Linked DNA regions of Homo sapiens: regions 2 and 3 are each linked to region 1. Evidence: promoter capture Hi-C in 16 types of primary human blood cells and fetal thymus (Javierre and others, 2016). All regions are on one chromosome and are shown on one strand. The core of a region is centred on a gene start or on the middle of the fragment in contact, and the rest is flanking DNA. Distances in the headings are between cores, read along the strand shown. Region 1 holds the start of MCAM (melanoma cell adhesion molecule). Region 2 holds the start of PHLDB1 (pleckstrin homology like domain family B member 1). Region 3 holds the start of DDX6 (DEAD-box helicase 6).

Region 1 (4,096 bases), core at 370-2,869:
CTGAGGCTGGTAGAGGGGCAGAAAGGGGCAACCTAGGCTCGGGGCCAAGAGGAAGGCCCCTTTCCTTCCAGGCCCCCTCCTCTCCGGGTGAGCTCAGAGTGTGGGAATGCAAAGCATGTGCCAGGCTGGGGCACACAGGCCCTTTTGTGTCACCACCGCCAGGGGAAGACACCACTGCTCTATCCTCTGCCCTCCAAAATCCCTGCCCTCACTCCCCAGCGGGCTAACTCTGGCGGAAGTTCCGGTCTCATGCTCCCTCAGCAGCACCTCCATGAACACTCCGCACACACCCGCGGACCCCACCCTAGGTAGCTGGTAAGGATGGAGAGGTCAGAGTCTCCCCCAGGGGTCAGGGCAAGGGCCAGGCAGTGGGCAGGAGTGACGTCAGTGGTGCCAGCGTGCTGCCAGCCCTGTGAGGAGGTGATGTCACTCGACACCATCTGCCTGGGCTCTGGGATGCCTGGGTTGTTACCTTGGCTCTCGGACAAGGAGGGCAGGTGGAAGGTGGGGTCTCCAACCCAGAGCCTCAGACCCCTGACTCCTCCCAGAGCTAGAAGAGCAGGGCAGGGTGGAGCTGGACCGGCTGCAACTGTGGAGCCCGATTTAGCCCTTTCCCCAGAAATAAAGTCAGCCTGGGAGGCAGTAGCCTGGAATACCCCAGGGACATGGTTGGCACTGGGCATGAGGCCAGCGAGCTGGGTATTGCCTAGCCCTCCCCTTCCCCAGCCGGACAGCGGCTGGGACGGCGGAATGGGAGCCAAGAGAAACACGCGACACCGCTGCGGGCCATACAAGGGCAGCGTGGACCCGAGAGCGCCCTGCTACCAGGCGGATCCGGAGAAACGCTCCGAGGTGCCCGGGCGCACTTCCCACCTGAATGTGGTCCCCAAAATAAGCCAGCGGGCGCTTCCAGTATGGGAATCCTCCATCCCTCATCTCTGTCCCCTATGATCCCATCACTCGGGGAGGCGCGAGGCGACCCACACCGCCCCGCAACCCCTGCCAACGCCCAGCTCGGGCGGGAGCCGCCGAACCTCCCGCTCTCGCTCACCTCCAGCCTGGCGTGATGCCCAGGCAGAAGGGGGAAGGGGTGGGTCGGCGCACCCCCTCCAGCGAAGGAAGCTGCCTTTTCCAGCAACAGGCGGGCGCGGAATTCAGGCTTTGAGGATGCGCCCCAGCTGCGCCTCCTGCCCGGCTTCAATTGCGGGCCCCCAGAGTGAGCACCTCAGGGACCACCCACCCCCCAGCACCCCGAAAGGCTGAGCTCCACCCCTTCTCGTTCCCAGAAGCAGCCTCCTCCCCGCCTTCCGAGTGCTGCTCCCGGGATACTCTAGAATCCCGGCTGCAAACTGGCTGCAAAGAAGAGTTGCTCGCGCGCAAGGCGCCCGGGGATCGGGGACCCAGGGAGGAGGCTCGTCCTCCCAGACGCAACGCCCCGACCCCGCCGCGCCGCTGGCTCTGCTCCCTGGCACGCTCCACCGCAGACCCCTAGCCGGGGCGCGGCCCCCCTGCGAGCGAACTCACCCGCGACGCGAGGACAGCAGCAGCAGGCGGCGAGCAAGAAGGCGCAGACCAGCCTGGGAAGCCCCATGCTTCCCGGCCGGAGGGCGAGAGCCAAGTGAGCAGCTCGAGGCTGCCGGGGGCTGACGTCAGGGGGGCGGGGGAGGGGGCCCGGAGCGCCCGGGCCCGCCCCGCCCCGCGCAGCCCCCAGCCCCCGCCCCGCGCGCCGCAGCCCTAGGGGGCGGGCCCCGGCGCCGCCAGCCCGGGAGCTGCGCCTAGGAGCGCTGCCGGAGGTAGGCCAGAGCCGGACTCCCAGGCTCCTGGCTTGGGAAGGCTGAGGGGGTAGTGACAGGTGTCTCGGGGTCTGACTGGCCGAGGTGGCAGCGAGGAGAAGCTGTCCCGGATGCCCGGAGTCGCCCCGGGTCGAAGCCAGCCAGGCTCACCGCTGCTCAGCCCCTGCCAGCCAATGTAGCCCCTAGGGGACCTCCTGGGGGAGGAGCAGTAGCGGACCTGGTCCTCGGTGTCCCCAAGGGGCCTCCCACTTGGGCTCCCCTCCCTTGCCACAGAGAATTCAGGCCGGCCTCTATCGCTTCCCAGAACGATTGCACCACTGCCGCTGCCGCCGGCCTGACACTGCCTCAGCCTCAGTGCTGGCAGCTTTGGGAGAAGAACCCTGCGCCAGTCCCACAGACCCAGAAGTACCTGTATGGGGAGTGCAGACGATGCCTTCTGGGCTGTCCCTTCAAACGCAAGCTCCTGCAAGTCTAGCCTTTGACCAGAGAAAGGAAGGAGGGGGCTGAATTCGCAGGCCCAAGGTGTTCACACTTGTCCAGACCTGGGCCTTGAGAATCATGTTTCTTCCCTCTTCACTCTGGAGCCTACCCTGGAACTCAGTTTCCCCTCACCTAAGAGAAAGAAACAGGGAGAAGAAAGAGTTAATGGGCGAGGGTCCCCAGCCTGACCCTGCAAACCTGTTGCTGTTCCTGATGATTGAAAGGATCCCGGCAGCGCTGATCTTCCCCCACCCCATGTCTTCCCCAGCCCTATTGATTGTGGGTCCATAGCTGAGGGAAGAATCAAATCAGACCTGCTTGGGTGGGGAGCTCTGCAGCTCCCCTTCTCCCAAAACGCCGGCTTCTCCCTGGGTCTTCTGGCCTCTTGAACTAAGGCTCTAGGGAGGGGGAGGTGCTCTTGCCTCACTCTGACCCCAGCAGCCTGGCCTCAGAAAAGGGGTCCACATCTGCTGGCGCGCCTCCACCAGGGAGTGCCAAATAGGGGCCTGGATTTGGGTAGAGGTCTGTTGCCCAGCGGGGCCACCCCTTTGCTCGCTGGGGGAGGTGGAGGGTGAGCCAGCAAACCCTGGAGATGGCCAGGTGACTTGAGAGCATGCTCCGGGGTGGCGTTTTGATGACGCAGAGATGACTGGAAAACCACACCAGGCTTGTCTTTCAGAGCCTTCTCGACCCCTCCTCCAATGCCATTAGTCTCCAGCCAGAGGCTGTGCAGAGCCCAGGCCCACCGGGCCAGGGGCCTGGAGCCTGGAGCCTGCAGGGAGAACAAGAGGAGGACGCTGGCTCGCCCTCCAGAGTGAATGTATGGACTGGCCCCAGGCCCAGAGCTGACTAGATGAGAATGTTTTGTCTGCTGGGCTGGAGTGGGAATGGCTGAAGGATGCCGTTTGCCCTGGCAGGCCCGGCTGGGCATGGAGCTGGCTTCCCTGCCCAACCCCCTTCCTTCACTTAACACCATTAACTAATCATTCGCCTCTCTGGCCTGAAAACAAAGCCAGCTAACCACCAAGGACAGTCAGTTCTGAATTCTTCTTCCGCTGGAGGAGAGTGAAGCCAGGTGGGGGTGGAGGATTTGTCTCTGCGGTGAAAGGGAAATGAGGTCAGAGCCTAGAGCCCAGGGTGACGTCCCTTCGCATTGCCCCACCAAACAAGCACAGAAGACTGTCCTTTAAGGAAGCCAGTAGCCTGGGGCTGTCTAGGCTGCTCGGAAGTGGGTCATAGCCTCAGGGGACAGATAGCTTTGGGATGGTTTCATGAGGTGGGCACTTTGGGATTCCAAACTAAAGACGGGTCAGGACCTCGGAAAGGACGCAGGAGTGGAGGCAGGGAGCAGGGTGGAGGGAGCGGAAGGTGAAGGGGATCAGCCCTCAGCTCTTCTTAGAGGCCAGAGGCTAGTGCTCCGGCAGCCCCAGGGGAGAGAAGGTGGCTGCGGGACTTCCAGCAGGACAGGAGTGACAGCCAGCAGAAGGGAGTTGGAGGAGGAGGCCACGGCCGTCTACCCTGCAGGGACCCAGCACCTGGACTGGGTTGGAAGAGCCTGGCTCAGATGTAGGCCAGGGCCAGAAGAGGCCCTGGGGGCAGAGTCCTAATTCTTCTTTTTTCCCTCGTTGGGTTGCAGGCAAGAAGGCTGCTTTCCTCCAGCCCCATGGTGGACCTGGGCCCCTCACACATGAGGGGACCCTCCTGCGCATAATGCCCTCTGCGTGTCTCTGGTATAGGTCTGACCACAGGTGGAGAAACTGAGGCCAGGTGGGGTGGGGGTCCTGGTTGGGCTCCTCAGCCACAGTCTCCTGGATGGGTGGAGC
Region 2 (4,096 bases), core at 1,161-3,660, 710 kb before region 1:
AAGACAGCTGAAAAGAGAGCTTTGAACTTTTCCCCAAGTTGCTGCAGGGTCATTGCTACCACCACGCCTACACCAATGATGCCTGACTTCAGGATCCAGAGGCCAGAAACGGACAGCTTTCTGGAAGAGGGTGTGTATCTACAAGGATTGCTTGCTGTATGAGCAATAATCACCTCTCTGGGGCTAGAGGGAGTACAATTTGAGAGGTGGGACAAAGTGGGGAATGTGCCAAGGCAAAAGCAGGAGTATGGAAATTCACTCCTGACACTTGTAGCCAATGCAAAGGGCCTTAGAAAAATCCACTCTTCCTTCCACACCCAGGCTTTGCCCTCTCCCCCTGCTTCCACTTCGGAAAGTCTGAAGCAGGCCTGGAAAGCTGTTTTCTGCTTTCTTTCCCTCTCTTCCTCCCCCTTTCCTGAGCTCCCAGCTGCTCGACCTCTTGCGTAACTGTGAGAGAGCGCTGAGTTTTTTGATGGGCTCCAGATGTGGAGCAGGGCGGAGATGGAGAGTGGGGGCGGTAGGTCTTTAGTCCCCTGAGTGCTCTAACTGTGGGAACATAGAGGCCTGACACAGCAGGGGAGAGGACACATTGCACAGCGCCTTTATCATAGGGTCAGCTGGTCCCTGTGTTGGGAGGTCAGTGAGAGAAGTTGGGTGCTGTTTCGACCCTCTGCCTCAGCATCCACTGCCTCCATGGCAGGCTTGATTATTCCCTGAAATTCCTCCTGCCCAGTACAGTAAAGAGGAGCTGGGGGCCGTGAAACAGAATGAAGTGAAAAGCCTCTGAGGTACTGCAATCTGGACCCCTCCCCTCAGTGCTGGGTCTTGGCACATGGGATACAACAGTTTGGGTTTTTTCCTTCTTCCTTTTTTTACATACCCAAATAGCCTGAATATTACTGTTGTGATCTGCCTCATGAAGGTTCATCAGAATTACTTTCATGACTTCAAACAGTATGAAGAGAGGAAAAACTAGAGTCTCGCTCCTCAAATCCTAGGACTTCCTGGTACCCACAGCATATTCTGGATCTTGAGTGTTCCACCTCCATTAGCTATAGCAGGTGGCAGCAAAGGGCGGCCTCTCCCCTCCCCCTCCTTGTCTGCTGCTTGGCCCCGGTCAGCTTCAGTCTCCAGCCGTGGGGGGTCCCCTGCTAAGGCCAGCCCTGTCAATGAGTGACCAGAGATTCCTGTAGTTCAGCCTCCTGCTGTTCCTGGGTTAGGGAGAGACGGCACAAACTAAACTCATTGAATTAGAACAGCACTTGTCCATCTCAAAGAGGATAAATTATTTTTTGCTATCCACCCCAGCTGGAATTTAGACCAGACTTACAGGCTTTCTGCTCCTTCCTTCAGTGAAGAAGAGTCTCCAGGGTCCCTCTAGTGCAGGTCAAAGAAGTCCAGTCCAGCTGAGTTCAGCTCCCTAGGGCCTCCCCAGCCAGTCTCCTGGACCAAGAGCTGGCTTTGCAAGGTAAGGATCCACTGTCAGCGTTGGATTTCGGAGTGGAGGTTGAGATGGAGAATGACTTCAACCTAGCTCAATTTGGGGGCTGCTTTTAGGTGTTTAGTGCCTCCTTCTCTTCCTTATTAACTCCCACTCCTACTACAGGTTGGTGTGCTCAATTGTATGTCTATAGCCTGCCTCCATCTCCCAATCTGTAATCCAGCAAGTCTGTCGGGGTGGAGGGGTGTGGAGCTCCATGGGGGCAAGATGATAATTCCATTCGGTTTTCCTGTGCTTTGGAGTTTGCATGACACTTTAACGAGTCTTCTTGTGCCTATCCTTAAGAAAGTCTGTGAAGCCTGATGTGCGTGGCTATCAATGTCATTTACAGCTCTTCATGGTGGGGCTTGGAATAGGGCGAGGGGAGGAGGTGACAGGGAGAAGACCTGGGTACCCTCAGTAGATGTTCTGGAGATGTTGAGAGCATGTTGTAGGGGCTTCGATTTGGGAGGTTCAGTGGGAGCCCGTGGAGGTTTCAGGCATCTAAGGCAAAAAGAAAGAGGGGAGAGTTTGGGGGAGGGAGAACGGATTGTCAAAAACACCCTCTCAAAAGCGTGTTAAAGCCTGGGAGTGGAGGGTGGTCTAGGAGAGTCGGGAGGGCAGGGTGGGAGGAGAGGGGGATGTGTGGTGGTGGTGGTGGTGGTGGTGGTGGTGGTGGTGGTGGTGGTGGTGGTGGTGGTGATGGTGGAGAGCCCAGCTGCAAAGATGAACAAAGCGGGCGCTGTGCAGGCTGGGGGAGGTGCTGCTGTGGGAAAGGGTGGGTGGGGGGACCTTGGGCTCCAGCCCCACAAGGGCGTCTTCTTTGGCTGGCCAGGCGGACGGGACGGGGGACGGGGGCGGGGACTGGCGGGAGGGGGGCGGGACAGGCTCGCTCTCCTCCTACTTAGCGAGCTCCCGGGGAAAAGCAACGGTGTCCTCCTAAGCCTGAGGCCACCGCGACCGAGCCGAGCCAGGCTAAGGGACCAGTGTCTCCCTGCCCCCCCCCCACCTCTAGGTAAGAGCGCCCCGTCCCACTACACTTGCGGGTCCCATTCGCTGCGGTGCTAGGACTGGATAAGGGGAAGTCCCCGGGGCCTGGCGAGAGCCCTGAGATCAGCTCTAGGCTAGGGAGCTCGGCAGAAACCCGTGGGGGAGAGAGGGCACCCCAGGTGAGTGCGTGGGGGCGAAAGGAGCGTTATGGGGAGTTTTCCTGTGAGCCTCTTGCTTTTGCCTTCCTCGGCCGCTGCCAACGCCACCGCCAGAGGGGGCCGTGACGCTCTCCCCCCCTTGGAGAAACTCTGATCCTGGCCCTATCCAGACTCTCCCGCCGGCACCCAGGCGGCCGGGCGGACACTCGCGGGGTATCGGGCGGCGAGCGCGCGCGCGGGTTTTCGTCCTCCAGCGCCCCACACCTCCCCCTCTCCGCCCACAGCAGGACCTTGGGGCGGGGGTATCTCCTGTGACGTCTCCCCGCCTGTCCCCAGGCCGGCCGCCTTGATGGACCAGGAAGGGATTCGGAGTCCGGCTCAGAGTCTTGAGCGTCTAGGAGGGCTGCCTGGGGGTGTCCAGGAGATGGGAAGCCCGCCTGGGGCCTCCCAGGCACTCCCCAAGGCCCCACGTCCTCGGGGGCCGGGGAGGCCGCCTGGGGCGCCTTGCCACGCCCGCGCGGTCCCTATTGGAATCCCTAGCGGAGTTCCCCGAGCGGAGGCTGACCCAAGTCATCCGGGCTCCCCCGGGATAGGGAAGTGCGGGCGGGCGGCTGGGTAGGGGCGCCGGCGCAGGGTGGCCGAGTCGCCCGCTAGCGCTTCCGCCGAGGCAGGCTCGAGTGGGGACTTGGCCGGGCGACCGCACAGCCCTGCCGGGGACCCACGGCTCTGGGGCGGGGCTGCATTCTGGGCCGTTAGCTCAGCGGTCCTGGAGCCTCCCGAGGCTGACTCATCGGGCGGCGGGCTCACCCCCCAGCCGTCAAACGCAAACGCAGGCGCCCCACCACGCCGGGCTCCCACGCGGCACACACGCACGCCTCCGCGACACTTCGCACACCTACGTCCCTGCGTCACGCCACCCAGACACACCCGGACCCGCCCACACGCCGAGGCCTTCCCACGCACTCCATGCCTTACGCCTCACAGGAAAGCGCCCCGCGCTCACGCAGCCCCTCACACCCGCAGCCCCGCTTACACGCGCCCCAGCTCACACATGCACCCCAGTCACACAGCCTACCTCACACACGCACCCCAGTCACACACACAACCCAGCTCACACACGTACCCGTCACACATGAGGCCCCAGCTCACACACGAAGCCCAGCTCACACACGCAGCCCCAGCTCTCACACACACACCCCAGTCAAACACGAGGCCCCAGCTCACACACGAAGCCCAGCTCACACACACTGCCCCAGTTACACAGCCCAGCTCATGCAAGCAGCCCGTCACACACACAGCCCAGCTCACACACACAGCCCAGCTCACACAAGCAGCCCGTCACACACACAGCCCAGCTCACACACACAGCCCCAGTTATACACACACAGCCCAGCTCACACACGCAGCCCGTCACACACACAGCTCAGCTCAATACACAGCCCAGCTCACACACACAGCCCCAGTTACA
Region 3 (4,096 bases), core at 777-3,276, 530 kb before region 1:
CAATCTTGGCTCACTGCAACCGCCGCCTCCTGGGTTCAAGCGATTCCCCTGTCTCAGCCTCCCGAGTAGCTGGGATTACAGGCGCCTGCCACCACGCGCAGCTAAATTTTTTCTATTTTTAGTAGAGACGGGGTTTTGCCATGTTGGCCAGGCTAGTATCGAACTCCTGACCTCAGCTGATCCGCCTGTCTTGGCCTCCCAAAGTGCTGGGATTACAGGTGTGAGCCACCGCTCCCAGCAACCCCGTTACATTTCTTATATAAAATACACTAGCTTACGAGTGCTGATTCTTTCTGCCATACACCAAGGCATGTGAAACTCAAAATTTTAAAGTCAACAGATCTCAACATTTATGAAGAAAATGCTCCTTGATTATGCCTTCCTTAAAAAAAAAATGAACAAGTTGCTCACAAGCAAATCCTGATTATCACATACACAAAGCTGTTTACTTCAGACTCTGACCTCTTAAGCAGATATGGTTAACAGCTACTTTCCTGTATTGACGGTTTTATATTATGATCAGCGATATCACGCAGTTCACAGAGACTTAGCTGTTTGCAGAGCACTAAGAGGATGAAAAGGGCAACCTCTAAAGACCGAACGATATCATCATTACTGTCCATCATGCACAGTAAGACCTCCTATATCCTTAAATCCAAAATGAGACTATGTGATAACTGCTCCCTTCTTAAACTGAAACCTGCACTGCAGCTTTTTCTCAGAGAAGGAAATATTCCTCCTACCCCTTCCCAATTTAGATTTGCAAGTTTTCTACATTTTCAAAAACAAAAAACAAAAAAACAAAAAACAAACAACAAGAAACGTAGACTAGTTGGGAGGAGCCCCTAGCGGAGTTAATTACAGCACTTCACAGATCGTAGTTAGCAATTGACAGTTTCACACCCAAAACAGTATCGTCATCGCCAACAAGAGCTTTTGTTTGCAAATGCAGCGCAGTTTTTCTAGCTTTGCCTGCAAGTTGGAGTGACTGGGTTTTATTCTGAAGGGAAATGGGGGCTGAGGAAGAGAAAGGAGAGAGATACGGGAAAGAGTCATTGACTAATGACTGGAACCCCGTAACTGAAAGGAAATTTCTTGTCCCCCCGCACCCCGCCCCACGCCCCAAACACACACACTTCTGACCATAAACACAAAAGGTTGGGGCTCTGCAATCTTATCTGCGCAATATGAGCCAGCAACCGCTCCATTAGTAGCAAACAATAGGGACTCCCCCAAGGAGGCCCCAAATGGACCCCCTAAACCAGAAATCCCCCTCCTTTCCTCCAAGAGTCGGGGGCTCCATAAATACCCTCTTGTTATTGACCCGCAAGGCCTACTGCAATCAAGCAGCGGCCGGTTTGCTTCTAAACCGAGCCCTCCAATACAGCATGTCCCTGCCGCCCCCTATAGGGCCGCCTCGTACCCTATAACCTCCACCATCATCCCCCTAAGTCCTTGCCGCCCCCTTCGGCCTCATATTCCCTCATCTTCGATAAAGCTACTCCGAGTACTTAGCCTGTTCCTCCTGCCGACCCTGCTGCGCACCACATTCCTATATTCGCCTCCTCTCAGGCGCTCCCACCCCACACAGCTGCCGACCGCCTTCCTCCCCAGGCCCGGCCAGGCCTTAGGCCTCCGCCCGAGAGTCCCCCAGAGCCGGCCCGGGGGGCTCCCCACAGCCCCCAAAGCACCGCTGACCTCGACCCCACCACCTCACCCCAAGCCTCGCGACTCGGGCCCGTGTCCTACCAACGAGGCCACTCCCGCTCGGCACCCTCGGTCCTTTATTGTTGACTCGAAGCTCCCAAAATGGCGGACGCTCCTTCCTCCTCGGAAACCTCCGCCCGCCCCCACCCAGCCCTCTCGCTACGGCCTCCTCTCGCCCCCGCCCCCGCCCCGCTCCGAGGGGCGCGCAGGCCAGCCGCCCGAGCCGCCGGCTCCCCCGGCTGTCCAGCCCTACCTCCTCCGCTGCCCGCTCTCGTGGCGCCGCCGAAGTCGCCGCCTGGCTGAGCTAACTCGGCTCCTCTGCCCCCTCCCTCGCTCGCCCGTTCGCCCGCCCGCCGCCTCCTCCCTCTTTCCCTGCCTCTCCGCATGGCGGCGACCGCGGCTCCTCCTCCACTCAAGATGGCGAAACCTCGGCCGCCGCGGCTATATTCGCCGCGGCGTCACTGCCTTCCTGGCCTGGTGGTGAGAGGAAGTCGGGCCGCGAAAGCTTCCTGAGGAGAAAATGGAGGGCCCTTCTCTCACACCGACGAGAAAAGTTCGAGGGGGAAATACGAGTTCCTTTCTGAAGGGACAGGACGGCTGCTTTTCCACAGCCGCGACGTGATTGAGAAATGGTGGCTGGCAAGGGTAGGCCTGCCTTCGCCCCTCCAAAGTAAAAATCGGGAGTTGAGACCAGAGGAACATCTCTTTATTACATGACTAAGGATATGTTTTGAAAACTGGCCCCCGGGCAGCTGCTCGGGGACAGGAAGCTGACCTGACTTCTCCAGCTGGCCGGGGAGGCTGATGCCGGGCCTAAGGGGCCGCGTCCGAGCCTCTCGGGGCGCGCCTCCATGCAGGAAGGCGCGGAACTAGCGACCCGGAGACGCCGGGCGCGCGTCTGAGTGTGGGGGCAGGAAGGGGGGCCGACCGGGCCCGGAGGCCGCACCAGGCAGGAGGGAGGACTCCAGAGAGTGCGCGGGGGGCGCTGCGCGGTGGGACGGGGCGAGCCTGTAGGGCGCGCCTGGCGGCGGGTAGGCTCCGGGCTTGAGGGTGCGCCTGGGGGCGCTGGTTGTGGGGGAAGGCACCGGGCTTGAGGGTGCACCTGGGCGGGGGAAGTCTTCGGGCATGAGGGCGCGCCTGCGGGTGGTATGGGGGGGTACACCGAGCTTGAGGGTGCGCCCGGGGGGCTCTCATGTGAAGGGTACCAGGCTTGAGGGCGCCCCTGCGGGGGGCGCAGAGGCACCGAGCTTGAGGGTGCGCCTCGGGGGTCTGCGGGGGGAAGGCACCGGACTTGAGCGTGCGCCGGGAGAGGACGGCGGGGGACCGGACTGTGAGGGCGTATCTTGGGGGACCTGTCTAGGAGGAACCGGGAGGTGAAGGCACAACTGGGGGTGAGGCGGGGGCAGGGGCCGGGCTGTGAGAGTGCGACTGAGGGGGGATTACTCCGGAGAGCACGGAGCTGGGGGCGTTGCGCAGGTGGAGTGGGGAGGCCTGGTGGAGAGGGTAGCAAACCGAGAGAGCGCACCGGGGTGGTGGGGGGAGAAGCTGGACTGTAAGGTGAAGAGTTAGTAGGGCGCAACCGTCTTCTCCTGCCCTCGAAGGGCAAGACTGAAGAAAGTAGGGGCGGAGGAGGCCGGGCCCTCCACTAAAGGGAGGGAAGCTAGTGAAGCGTCAGTTATAATAGAAATAGGAATTCAGTAAGGAAATGGAGAAGCTTAAGGCAAAGGGTGACTCTCCGGCCTGACCCTCACTATGAAGATATTTATGTATGTTCCCATAATACTTTTCAGATCCCAATGTCTGTGTTTATCCTTGACAGAAATAATAGAACTGCTGTCTTCTTCCAAGTTAAACAAAACTTTGGAGCTAAAAGCTAGCTAGGTCAAGAGAAACAAAATCTAATCCTCACCCAATTGAGAGACTGAATATACAAAGAATGGCCAAACCTAACCATGACCTCCTACCCATAACCTCTTCAGTAATCGGCCAGAAGGGTCAGGACTTAATCTTTAACCGGCAGCTTCCCTATTTCTTGCCCCTGCTTCCAGCTCTGGGCCAATCAGAGAAAGCCAAATGTGCTCCTCACACCAATCGCGTAAGAAGCCCTGCTTCTAGTATAGCCCTCCTCCAACTTCCCGATGCCAACATCCTCCAATCAGAGCCAACCTGAAGTTTCTCCCTTTTTTCAGTATATGTAAAGCTTTTCCACTCCCCTGCCTGCCTATGAGTCTGTTAAATCAAGTGATGGGTCGCGGCTGACTCTTGCCAGCTCTGAGTAAATAGCCTATTCTCATTTGGTGGTCGTTATTTCTACACAGCCGGTGGGAAGGTGGTGGAGAATAGTGAAGACTATTCTTAAGGTTAAAAAGAAGGTTCGGCTTACATTTTT

Evidence for each region. The method cuts DNA at HindIII sites, captures the fragments that hold promoters and counts their contacts. A CHiCAGO score of 5 or more calls a contact.
Region 2: a contact is called between the fragment with the promoter of PHLDB1 here and the fragment with the promoter of MCAM in region 1, in 2 of 17 cell types (fetal thymus and total CD8 T cells). The highest score is 8.3, in fetal thymus.
Region 3: the fragment with the promoter of DDX6 here is called in contact with the fragment with the promoter of MCAM in region 1 in 2 of 17 cell types (neutrophils and fetal thymus); the score reaches 7.6 in neutrophils.

What each region holds. Positions count from the first base shown.
Region 1 is chr11:119,315,511-119,319,606 of GRCh38, forward strand. MCAM (melanoma cell adhesion molecule) reads right to left here and starts at 1,620. Exons shown (of 16, transcript NM_006500.3): 1 at 1,525-1,620. The coding sequence starts at 1,591. RefSeq lists enhancers at 1-306, 3,200-3,249 and a silencer at 1,899-1,958. The HindIII fragment of the contact is 17,882 bases long and covers 1-4,096 here.
Region 2 is chr11:118,605,205-118,609,300 of GRCh38, forward strand. It overlaps PHLDB1 (pleckstrin homology like domain family B member 1), which reads left to right and starts at 2,411. Exons shown (of 23, transcript NM_001144758.3): 1 at 2,411-2,495. It overlaps LOC124902765 (a long non-coding RNA gene), which reads right to left and starts at 3,307. Exons shown (of 2, transcript XR_007062908.1): 1 at 2,919-3,307; 2 at 1-1,984. RefSeq lists silencers at 2,903-2,992, 3,053-3,122 and enhancers at 3,250-3,544, 3,582-4,096. The HindIII fragment of the contact is 8,144 bases long and covers 1-4,096 here.
Region 3 is chr11:118,789,138-118,793,233 of GRCh38, forward strand. DDX6 (DEAD-box helicase 6) reads right to left here and starts at 2,027. Exons shown (of 14, transcript NM_004397.6): 1 at 1,961-2,027. RefSeq lists enhancers at 627-1,184, 643-822, 2,133-2,242, 2,859-3,414, 3,803-3,912 and silencers at 1,023-1,102, 1,733-2,062, 2,513-2,802. The HindIII fragment of the contact is 4,863 bases long and covers 1-2,210 here.